Regions from separate parts of the Homo sapiens genome. Here region 2 is linked to region 1. Evidence: promoter capture Hi-C in human tissues and cell types (Jung and others, 2019). All regions are on one chromosome and are shown on one strand. The core of a region is centred on a gene start or on the middle of the fragment in contact, and the rest is flanking DNA. Distances in the headings are between cores, read along the strand shown. Region 1 holds the start of MTHFD1 (methylenetetrahydrofolate dehydrogenase, cyclohydrolase and formyltetrahydrofolate synthetase 1). Region 2 overlaps PLEKHG3 (pleckstrin homology and RhoGEF domain containing G3).

What was found. Contacts are between HindIII fragments. The study calls those that stand out against the background at their distance.
Region 2: a fragment that was not itself captured here is called in contact with the fragment with the promoter of MTHFD1 in region 1 in 1 of the 25 tissues and cell types used here (dorsolateral prefrontal cortex).

The regions. Positions count from the first base shown.
Region 1 is chr14:64,385,843-64,390,979 of GRCh38, reverse strand. MTHFD1 (methylenetetrahydrofolate dehydrogenase, cyclohydrolase and formyltetrahydrofolate synthetase 1) reads right to left here and starts at 2,627. Exons shown (of 28, transcript NM_005956.4): 1 at 2,512-2,627. The coding sequence starts at 2,552. RefSeq lists enhancers at 2,775-2,864, 3,385-3,444, 3,465-3,564. The HindIII fragment of the contact is 7,460 bases long and covers 1-5,137 here.
Region 2 is chr14:64,706,675-64,711,811 of GRCh38, reverse strand. All of the region lies in intron 1 of PLEKHG3 (pleckstrin homology and RhoGEF domain containing G3), which reads right to left. Among named protein-coding and RNA genes, the nearest start is that of PLEKHG3, 4.8 kb to the right of the region's middle. RefSeq lists an enhancer at 2,873-3,374. The HindIII fragment of the contact is 5,509 bases long and covers 1-5,116 here.

The DNA.
Region 1 (5,137 bases), core at 1,378-3,877:
GGGAAGTGGGCTGGATTTTTAAGAAATTCTAGGACCGGTGCAGTGGCTCATGCCTGTAATCCCAGCACTTTGGGAGGCCGAGGTGGGTGGATCACATGGGGTCAGGAGTTACAGACCAGCCTGACCAACATGGTGAAAGCCCGTCTCTACTAAAAATACAAAAATTAGCCGGACGGGGTGGCACACACCTGTAGTCTCAGCTACTCGGGAGGCTGAGGCAGGAGAATCGCTTGAACCTGGGAGGTGGAGGTTGCAGTGAGCCAAGATCATGCCATTGCACTCCAGCCTGGGCAACAAGAGTGAAACTCTGTCTCAAACAAACAAACAAACTAGCTGGACATGGTGGCGGACGCCTGTAATCCCAGCTACTTGGGAGGCTGAGGCAGGAGAATCGCTTGAACCCAGGAGGCAGAGGTTGCAGTGAGCCGAGATCACGCCATTGTACTCCAGTCTGGGCGACGAGTGAAACTCCATCTCAAAAAAAAAAATTAGCTAGGCGTGATGGCGGGCACCTGTAATCCCAGGTACTCAGGAGGCTGATATGAGAGAATTGCTTGTATGCAGGAGGCAGAGGTTGCAGTGAGCCAAGATTGGACACAGCAAGACTTCATCTCAAAAAAAAAAATAGATCTCAAGGCAGCAGCTACCATGTAAAAAAAAAAAAAGATAATGAATCATTCATATATACATTAACTAATTACTGATTATTAATACAACATATATCGAATACTTATTATGTGCCAGGAAGAATTATAAATGATCATCTGTTAGGAACCCATTTAATTCTACTAACATCCCAATGACCTAGACATTACTTTTACTTAACATTTGAGGAAACTTTGGCACAGAAAGGTTAATTAATTTGCTTAAAACCACACAAGTAGTAAGGCAGGAAACAGGGTTTCCAGGTGTTTAGGATATAGACAAAAATAAGACAATACATGTATTTGCCCTTATGGAGTTGATAAACATATTTAATTTGCTCTCCAATTAACGAAAGTATATTCAGTGAGCACCTATTCTCAGTACTGGCCCAGATGCATTATTATTGTACTAAATTATCTGCACTATTATTATGCACTAAATTATCTCTTCACAATCAGTCTTTCTAAAAGGAAGATTTTTATATTAAAACAAAAAGCCACTGGAAAAGGAAGTAAGTTTGAATACAAGCAAACAAAAACAGAAAGTAAAGCAGAAATACAGTTTAGCAAGCCACATGTTGAAAAGCACTAAGCAGTAAGTATTGTGATTTCTTTTTTTTTTTTTCTTAGACGGAGTTTCGCTCTTGTTGCCCAGGCTGGAGTGCAATGGCGCATCTCAGCTCACTGCAACCTCTGCCCCCCAGGTTCAAGTGATTCTCCTGCCTCAGCCTCCCAAGTAGCTGGGATTACAGATGCCTGCCACCACACTCGGCTAATTTTTTGTATTTTTAGTAGAGATGGGGTTTCACCATTTTGGATAGGCTGGTCTTGAACTCCAGACCTCAGGTGATCCACCCACCTCGGCCTCCCAAAGTGCTGGGATTACAGGCATGAGCCACTGGGCCCGGACTTTTCACCACCGATGACTTTGTAATTCACTCAAAAACCTATTACAAAGTTAGGAGTTACAGGACAATTACAATTTAGTAACTGCTGTGGCTGGCAACAGTTACTTACATAACGGGTGATGTGAAAGGTCCCAAGAGCAAACTCAGTAAGGTCACACAGAATATATCTTTCCCTCCTTCATCTACTAGAGGGAATATATTTTTCCCTCTTCCTTCTACTCTCATTTTTCCTCACCAGTCACCTCCCAGACAAAAAGCAGCCAGTGTTACTTCCTGGGAGTAAAGCTGGCAACGATACCCACTAATTAAGCATTCAGATGTCCCGCAAGGGTAGAACAGGCAGAGGTCAAGTGGAATGCAGAATATTCTCAGGACTCAGGAGCCAAATTACGTTTCAAGTAACTCTAGGACCAGGGCAGAGAGATGGCTGTTAGAGAGAAGCACGAGATTGAAGAGAAAGGAAAAATGTATTAGATTTCACTTAGCGTATGATAAGACTATGGTATAGTGGGAAAAGCTATGAGCTGGAAGGACCCTCTGTCATTATCAGCCTTGTAGTCTTGTCAAGCCTTGTCACCTCACTAGTCTCCATCTACTCACCTCCAAATTAACGGGAATTAAGTAGATTGGATTTCTGAGTTCTGACTAGGGGGGCTCCAGGAAGCCGCAACTACCCACTCTCCCGGCAGAAAGTCACCAGCAGCTGCGCGTTTGGGAGCATAGTCGGCACAGGACTTTTCCCCGAAGCACAGGAGCCAGCGGCTACAGCCACTAGGCAGTCCACTTGCAAACGCAGGTTGTGCCCGGGTTCTCTTTCTTTGGCTGCAGGTCTTCAGGTGTTATGGGCCTAACTCTTCCGCTACAAGTGTCCCTCCCGCAAAAAATGGGTCCGGGGGACCTGCACACCCTCAGAGCCCTCGTCCACAGCCCCACACTCAACAACAATGTCAGGTGCTTACGCGGAGATCTCCTTCCCGTTCAGGATTTCTGCTGGCGCCATGGCCTTTATTAGTCCGCTGCCCACGATGGACACCACCAATATCGAGGTTCCACTCCCTCCGCAGCCAAGCAGGACAACCCAACCCACGTGCTTAGGGACTGGCCAGGGGATCACACTACTGCGCCTGCGCCCCTGCCCGCTTCTCCCCCTGCAGACGCGGTGGCGCATGCGCAGTTCGGAAGGACCCGAGTCCCTTAACTAACCGAGAGCTAACAGGTCGGGGACTGCGGGACGGAAGAGGGAGGGGAAGATGAAGAAAATCGGTGATGAATGGCTGGCGGAAATGATTGGCGGAAAGAAAGAGCCAGTTCACAGTGCGCCTTTGTATTCGGCGGGAAACCCGGCCGAAGAGGGAGCTGGAAAGGACTCCGGAATCCGGCCGTAATTCCAGCCAATCAGGGAGTAGAGTTGCGGGGCGGGGTTGGGGCGGGGCAGTCTCGCGGGAGATAGTTTCGCGGGTTCGGGAGGCGAGTCTCCGGTTTCCGCCCAGTCTCTGGGGACGCGGTGGCGGGGTCTGAATCGCCTGGCTTCCAGGGAGTTTTGGGCGGGTCCCCGCACGGGAGCGTGGCAGGCGCTGGACTCGACAGCAGATGTGGAACTGGAGAGCTTGGCGCGCCCTCATACTTTGTCACACACCTACGCCACCAGACTGGGGTCGGGCCCCTCCGCGTTCTGCTCTGGAGGGCCTGGGTCTGGGCCCAGCATAGCGCTTTTAGAATCTCCTCAGCTGAATCTGACGCTCAGCCGTAGGTGAAGCTTAGCCCGCTGTTTCAGGCCCCGCCGATCTGGAAGGAGTGTCAGAGCTGGAGCGCGCGTGGCCTCATCGGTGTTGGGGTCACCCCGGGGTTGCCAGGGCTCATGGAGGGTCGTAGTCTGGATTTTGTCACCCCCACGTCCCCGCCCCGCAGCAAGTCTGGGGTTGGAGAACTCACGCGGTCTTCGTAAGCTACATGCCAGTTGACCCTCGAGGAGGGATGCTCCCTCCCCTTAAGCGTCCACGCTGGAGAAGGAGTAAGATGGACAATTGCCTGGGGAGCCTGACAGGGCGGTGGCAGCTGGGATGCTGGAGAGGACTGGCCCCTTGTGTTACTGAGTCCAAGGAATATGCTTGCTCTGCTCTAGGAACCGCGTTCAGGTTACAGTCATCCCAGTAGAGTCCTGAAGATGCGTGGTTCAGGTCACTTAGGACTTGACCAGATACCGGGTTTCTTTTACAAGCCGTTTACTACTGGCAGAGCTCATCTAAAACTTTTTTTGTTTGTTTGTTTGAGACGGAGTCTCATTCTGTCGCCCAGGCTGGAGTGCAGTGGCACGATTTTGGCTCACTGCAACCTCCGCTTCCCGGGTTCAAGCAGTTCTCTGCCTCAGCCTCCCGAGTAGCTGGGATTACAGGCACCACCTAATTAGCCCGCCACCACGCCCGGCTAATTTTTGTATTTTTAGTAGAGACGGGGTTTCACCATCTTGGCTAGGCTGGTCTTGAACTCCTGACCTCGTGATCCACCCGCCTCGGCCTCCCAGAGTGCTGGGATTACAGGCGTGAGCCACCGCACCTGGCCTAAAACTGATTTTTTATTAATTTTGGGGCTTTTAATATTTTTTTCTTATTTCTAAATTCTGAGGTTATTTATAGTAGCCCCATATACGGGATTAGATAATCTCTTGTGATTTTCTATTTCTGGTAATTATTTCTAATATATGTTTTTTTGTTTTTGAGACGGAGTCTCGCTATGTCGCTCAGGGTGGAGTGCAGTGGCATGATCTCCGCTCTTTGTAGCCTCTGCCTCCCGGGTTCAAATGATCCTCCCACCTCAGCCCCCCGAGTAGCTTGGACCACAGGTGCATGCCACCACGCCGGCTAATTTTTCTATTTTTGGTAGAGTTGGGGTTTCACTATGTTGACCAGACTGGTCTAGATCTCAAGGGATTAGTCTCCCTTGGCCTCCCAAAATGCTGGGATAATGGGCATGAGCCACCGTGCGTGGCCTTAAAGTTACTATTCTTAAAGTTTGCACAAGTGATATGTTAAAGGCACAGACTTAGTAATATAATGTCATTATAATAATAACCCTAAAACACATTGTCTCATATTGTGTTGTACCTAAACAAGTGAAATTAAGAAGAAAATTGAAGGAAATGTTTCTGGTAAATTGCAGATAGTGAATCTTTTGTCTTATACTATCAAATAGGTATTGACTATTCCAGCTTTCTTATTTGTTGAGGAAGATGGCAGAAATCCCGTTTTACAGAGGGATAGACTTTGAAGGATAATACCCAAAGCTGCATAGCTGTGGCTGGTATAGGCCCCAAACCTGATGTTTCTTCTCTAAATCTACTGCCTTTGCCATCTCAACAGCCTGGTTTTTGACAGTTATCTATGTATGAGTTGCATAAATCGTTCATTCATGGAGCAAATAATTATTGAGTGGCCACTATGCCAACAGCACTGCTATAGATGCTAGAGATACCCTAGTGAACCAGCAAAGTTTCTGCTCTCAGCTCATATTCTGGTGGAGGAGACAACGATCAAGTTAAAGAAATACATAGGCTAATTTTAGAGATTATGACATGCTATATTTTAAAAA
Region 2 (5,137 bases), core at 1,113-3,612, 320 kb before region 1:
CTACCAAGAAAGTGAAAAGACAAATCACAGAATGGGAAAAAATATCTGTAAATCGTATACTTGACAATGAACTTGTATCCAGAATATATAAAGAACTCTTGGCCGGGCGCAATGGCTCACACCTGTAATTCCAGCACTTTGGGAGGCCAAGGCAGGCGCATCACAAGGTCAGGAGATCGAGACCATCCTGGCTAACAAGGTGAAACCCTGTCTGTACTAAAAATACAAAAATTAGCCAGACGTGGTGGTGGGTGCCTGTAGTCCCAGCTACTCGGGAGGCTGAGGCAGGAGAATGGCATGAACACGGGAGACGGAGCTTGCAGTGAGCCGAGATCATGCCACTGCACTCCAGCCTGGGCAACAGAGTGAGACTCCGTCTCAAAAAAAAAAAAACAAAAAAAAAGCATTCTTGTTTCAACTGAGGCAAACACCCTTTGGGATAACTGGCAATCTGCTTGGGTGGAGCCGAATTAAGATTGGACTCATCCAGGCTCTACTGTAACACAGTCAAACTTTGGCCAGCTGGAACCTCTGTAGAGAGAGGGCATCCAAAAAGCAGCATTTGCAAGAGCATGCAGAGTTTCAAAACAGTGTGGGGTAGGGCTAAGAGCGGGCTCCAAAAGTTCAAACCCCATCCCTGCCAAGTATTAGCTGAGCGATCCTGAGCAAGTTACCCAACTCGTGGGGACTTGGTTTCCTCATCTGGGGTGGGTGAAGTGGGTAAACCACCTACTTGGTCTTATTTAAAGGATTAGTGATATTATTACCTAAGTATCAACACTTAAAATTTTAGCCAACCTGACTGGGAATCTTTTAAAAATCCGTTACACACTTCCCTGCCTTCCTAAACAGAGTCAAGGGAACATAATTTAACCTTTTCTTGATGACTCTGGGTCACAATTACCAGCAAAGCATAAATTATCAAACTGATGATCCCCAGACACCCAAGGTGTGCCAAGTCATTCCCTCCACACCCCCTCCCTCCAAAAAAAAAAAGATCCCCGGCACTTCTGCTAGCACTTGCTTTTCCTGGAGTTTTTATCTCAGTCTGCTCTCACTGCCAACTCTGCACTGTAGTCATTTTTCCCCCTCTATGCTTGTTTCTTTATCCTCTTTCATTTTATTTTTTTAATTTCTTTTGAGACAGAGTTCTGCTCTTGTCGCCCAGGCTGGAGTGCAATGGCGCAATCTCGGCCCACTGCAACCTCCACATCCTGAGTTCAAGTGATTCTCCTGCCTCAGCCTCCCGAGTAGCTGGGATTACGGGTGCCCGCCACCATGCCCAGCTAATTTTTGTTATCTTTAATAGAGACGGGGTTTCACCATGTTGGCCAAGCTGGTCTCAAACTCCCGACCTCAGGTGATCCACCGGCATCAGCCTCTCAAAGTGTTGAGATTACAGGCATGAGCCACTGCGCCCGGCCTTTATCCTCTTTCATTTGCTGCTTCTTCCCAGCTTGAACATAGCATGACATAGCTTATATGTAGAAGTTAAACAGGGTCTGAGAAGACTGGCATGAAGAAAAATGTAGGACCTTGAGTCCTCGACCTTCTTGGCTACATGCAAATAAGCAAGGGTGCTGGGTGGCTGAGTTCCAAATAAGAGTTTAGGGTAGGAGAGGTGTTATTGGATATTATGGAACACATTATGGGAAGAACTATATCCAACGCTATAAATACACCCTGCTGTCCACTTTGGGGCCAACTTGCATGGGAGCAAAATGTGTAGCAAGCTTTGGAAGACAGGTCCCAATGACTGTAGGTCTCCTTCTTACATGCTGCAGGAATACAGGGCTTCCTGTCCCACTGTCAGAACAGCTGACTACAGGTTAACTTCTTAGAATCTTATGGACATTCTCTGTCAGGAACAGAACATTCATAGTGTGAGCATTTCCTTAATTCCTAAGGTCTCGTCACACAGTAGGGTTTTACTTACTTATTCAACAAATACTTATTGGAATCCTACTGTACAACAGGCACTGGGGATGTAGCAATGAACTGAAGGAATAGAAGCTATATGAGAATACTGGTTCCTTTCTAATACTACACACACACACACACACACACACACACACACACACAGTCTCACAGCCTAGGAAGTAAAGGATGTGAGTTTTTAAGAGCTTCCGGCACCTGTAGAAACCATCTCTCCTTTTGGGACCCTGTTCCCAAGGTAAAATCGACTTCATTCCTCCTGCATCTTTCCCTTCCAGTCCCAGCTCCGATTCTGGCAATAATCAGATCAACTTCTAGGACCCTCAAACTGTGTTTCACAAAAGGCTGCATGCACAGCTACCACTGTGCCCACGAGAACCCTATTTGGGTTGTGTTCAGCCCAAGTCTGCTCAGCATGAAAGAGAGTGCAAGTCCTTAAAAATCCATTCCTTGAGCTTACGTAGGGCTCCCTCCCCAAAGGCCAGCCGCCAGAACTGTATAAAGCCCTCTTCTCCCTAGTGCTTGCATTCCCAGATGGCAACAGCCCACCTAGGGCTGGACTCGACCCTAACACTACCTTCTTCTCCCTAATCCCATGGAACAAAAGCTGTAGCAAATGAGACCACAAGCCCAGATTACTCTAAGGGTGGGACCACGGCTGAAGCCCATCACTCCCTGTTGATCACACTTTGTACCATTCTCAATGCTGTCTGGGCACAAAGATGAGTCCAGCACCATTCCTGTCCCCAGATAGCAACCCAGTTAGCATGGCCAACCTTTATCCCCAGGCAGCTGACAGACAGAGGGGCTACCAGCAGCTCTAGATGGGCCCCCTGCTGATCAGTTTAGTCCACGTTGTCCAGTTTTCTTTCTCCTGACTTCAGGTCACCCAACACTAACATGCTTGGGGCTGTTCAGGGCCCTCTTTGCAACTTCCTCTAATATCAGATCATCTAGCTTTTACCCGTCTCCAGGCACCAACTGGCAGTCCCAGGAAGTTCCTTCATCACAGGGCCTGCCTGGCTGCCGAGTGTGCAGCGACATACTTGGGGGGTGGGGCGGGGGGGTGGAACTGGCCATGACCACTTCCCTAGGCCTCATCCTCCACTGCCCATCTCTCACTTCCTGAACTAGGGCAGGGTCTCCAGGAAGCCACTCACCACAAACTTTGACAGCGGTACTTTAGATTAAACCCCTCCCTTTGTAGGCCCGTGGTTCCAGCAGAGAGGGTCGGAGACTCAGCAGATCAGCTGGGTAGAAGCGGCTAGGAGTTAGGCAGCCGACCCTGAGTTCTCATTGTGTCTGTCACTCTGTTACTTTAAATTCTGGTCCCTGGCGAACCCTTATTCAAAGTCTTCCGAGCCATCTCGAAGCCTCCACCAGAATCCTCCTGCCACCCTTCTGGGCTTTCCTAGGACAGCTCCACCCACCATCTGCCCCCTCCCTCACTTTCCCTACCCCTTGTCCCCGCCCCACTCCGCTTCCGACCTCCAGGCATAATTTACCTGCCGGAGGCTGGGGGAGGGGTGGACAGCCTTCCCAGCTGTGAGGCAGAGTCGGGAGGTCAGGGAGAAGGTGTGATTCATTGAGTCTGGCTGGAAGCAGGGGGAATTCCAGAGCAAGAGGGGGGTGGTCAGGGCTGCCCCTGTCATCCTATCTGTAGGATGGGGGTGGGCATAGGACATACCTGGGAGTCCCACGTCCTCAGCCATCTGCAATCTAGGGTAGGGCAGGAAAGCCTCCCTAACCAGAAAGTTTTTGCCAAGGTTTTCTATTTTCCCCTCCCTCTAATTCCCCACTCCTGCCCAATATCTAAAATGAAAAGCTTTGCACCTACAGTCCTTAGCAATGACATTAAATATCTCATGCTACCCCTGCAGAATTTGGTTGGAGAAATAGTTTATCGAACCTCTCTATAGTCTTTGCTAAGCATTCAACATACGTTATCTCACTGTACATTGCCATGATGCCGCATGTGGTAAGTATGATGACTAACTCCACGTTGGGTAAGAAACACAGCTCAAAGGAATTTAGCACCACATCAAAGTCCACAGGGCTAGTGAGCTGTCAAGCCAGGGATTTGAAACCAAGGTGTGTCCAACTCCAAACTCTGTTCCTCGATGCCACAGTGGGATGAACTGGGCTTCAAGTTAGAAAAGGCAGCGATGAAGAAAAATACCGCCTTCAGGCATCACCTCAAAAGTACCTTCCTCCTGGAAGCCTCCCTGGCCACCCTATCTAAACTGTCACCTCACCCCTTCCATGACAATTCACACCTACCTTCCCTATCATATTTTTTATTTCTGTTTATCACTAACACACTTGCTATTTCAATCTTGTTTATTGTCACTTCTGCTAAAGTCAGCTCCACTGGGTCAATAATTATTGTATATTTTCTTCACTGCTGTGTCTTCTGCATCTGGCATTCATACATAGTAGGTGCTAACTCCTTAACTATTAAATGAATGAATAGAGTACTTTAAAATAGAACTAAGGGGCATGAGTACTGGGAGGAAAAGGTGATCCGTCCATTCAGCAGAAGAAAGGAGAGATGAGAAAAGACGGTGTGGGAATCTGGCCAGAGGTGAGTTGTGGGGCCCAGATGAGCTTGACAAGAGGAAATGAGGATCTGCCAGGTCCGCTGGGGGCTCCAGTAGCCCCTTCCTCCTGGCAGTTGTGATTTCCAGCTGCCAGGGCCCCCGCTGGAGGGCTTCTGCTGAGGAGGGAGGATGGAGTAGGGCGGGTTTGCAGCCACGGAACAAAGGCCTGTGGACTTGCAGCTGGCCAGAGAGGCGGGACAGAGCAGTGGCCTGGGCCAGAGGGGCGGCCTGAGATGGGGGAGGGGGCACAGATGAGGAGCTGAAGACAGCCCTCAGTGCAGCTGCAAAAGCAACACCCTCCCAGAGTCCCTGCAACCCCCAACACAACAGAGAATAGCCAGAGGGCTTCACTTTTAACCCTCCAAGGCCAGGGCGGCCTGGGCTTGTGGCAGCACCCCTGGCTTACAGCTGGAGCCTTCACAAGGTTCTGGGAGCTGGGAGAAGAGAACGGGCAAGGCATACCTCTGCAACAGAGGAGCCTTCCCCCTCCAGCCCTGGTCATCCCGCAGGCCGTGGCCTTTGGCCTCTTCCAGCGTAAACAGTGACCGTGGGATAGCTGCGGATTTGGTAAGGCAAATGTTTACTCTGGGGCTGAGATATTA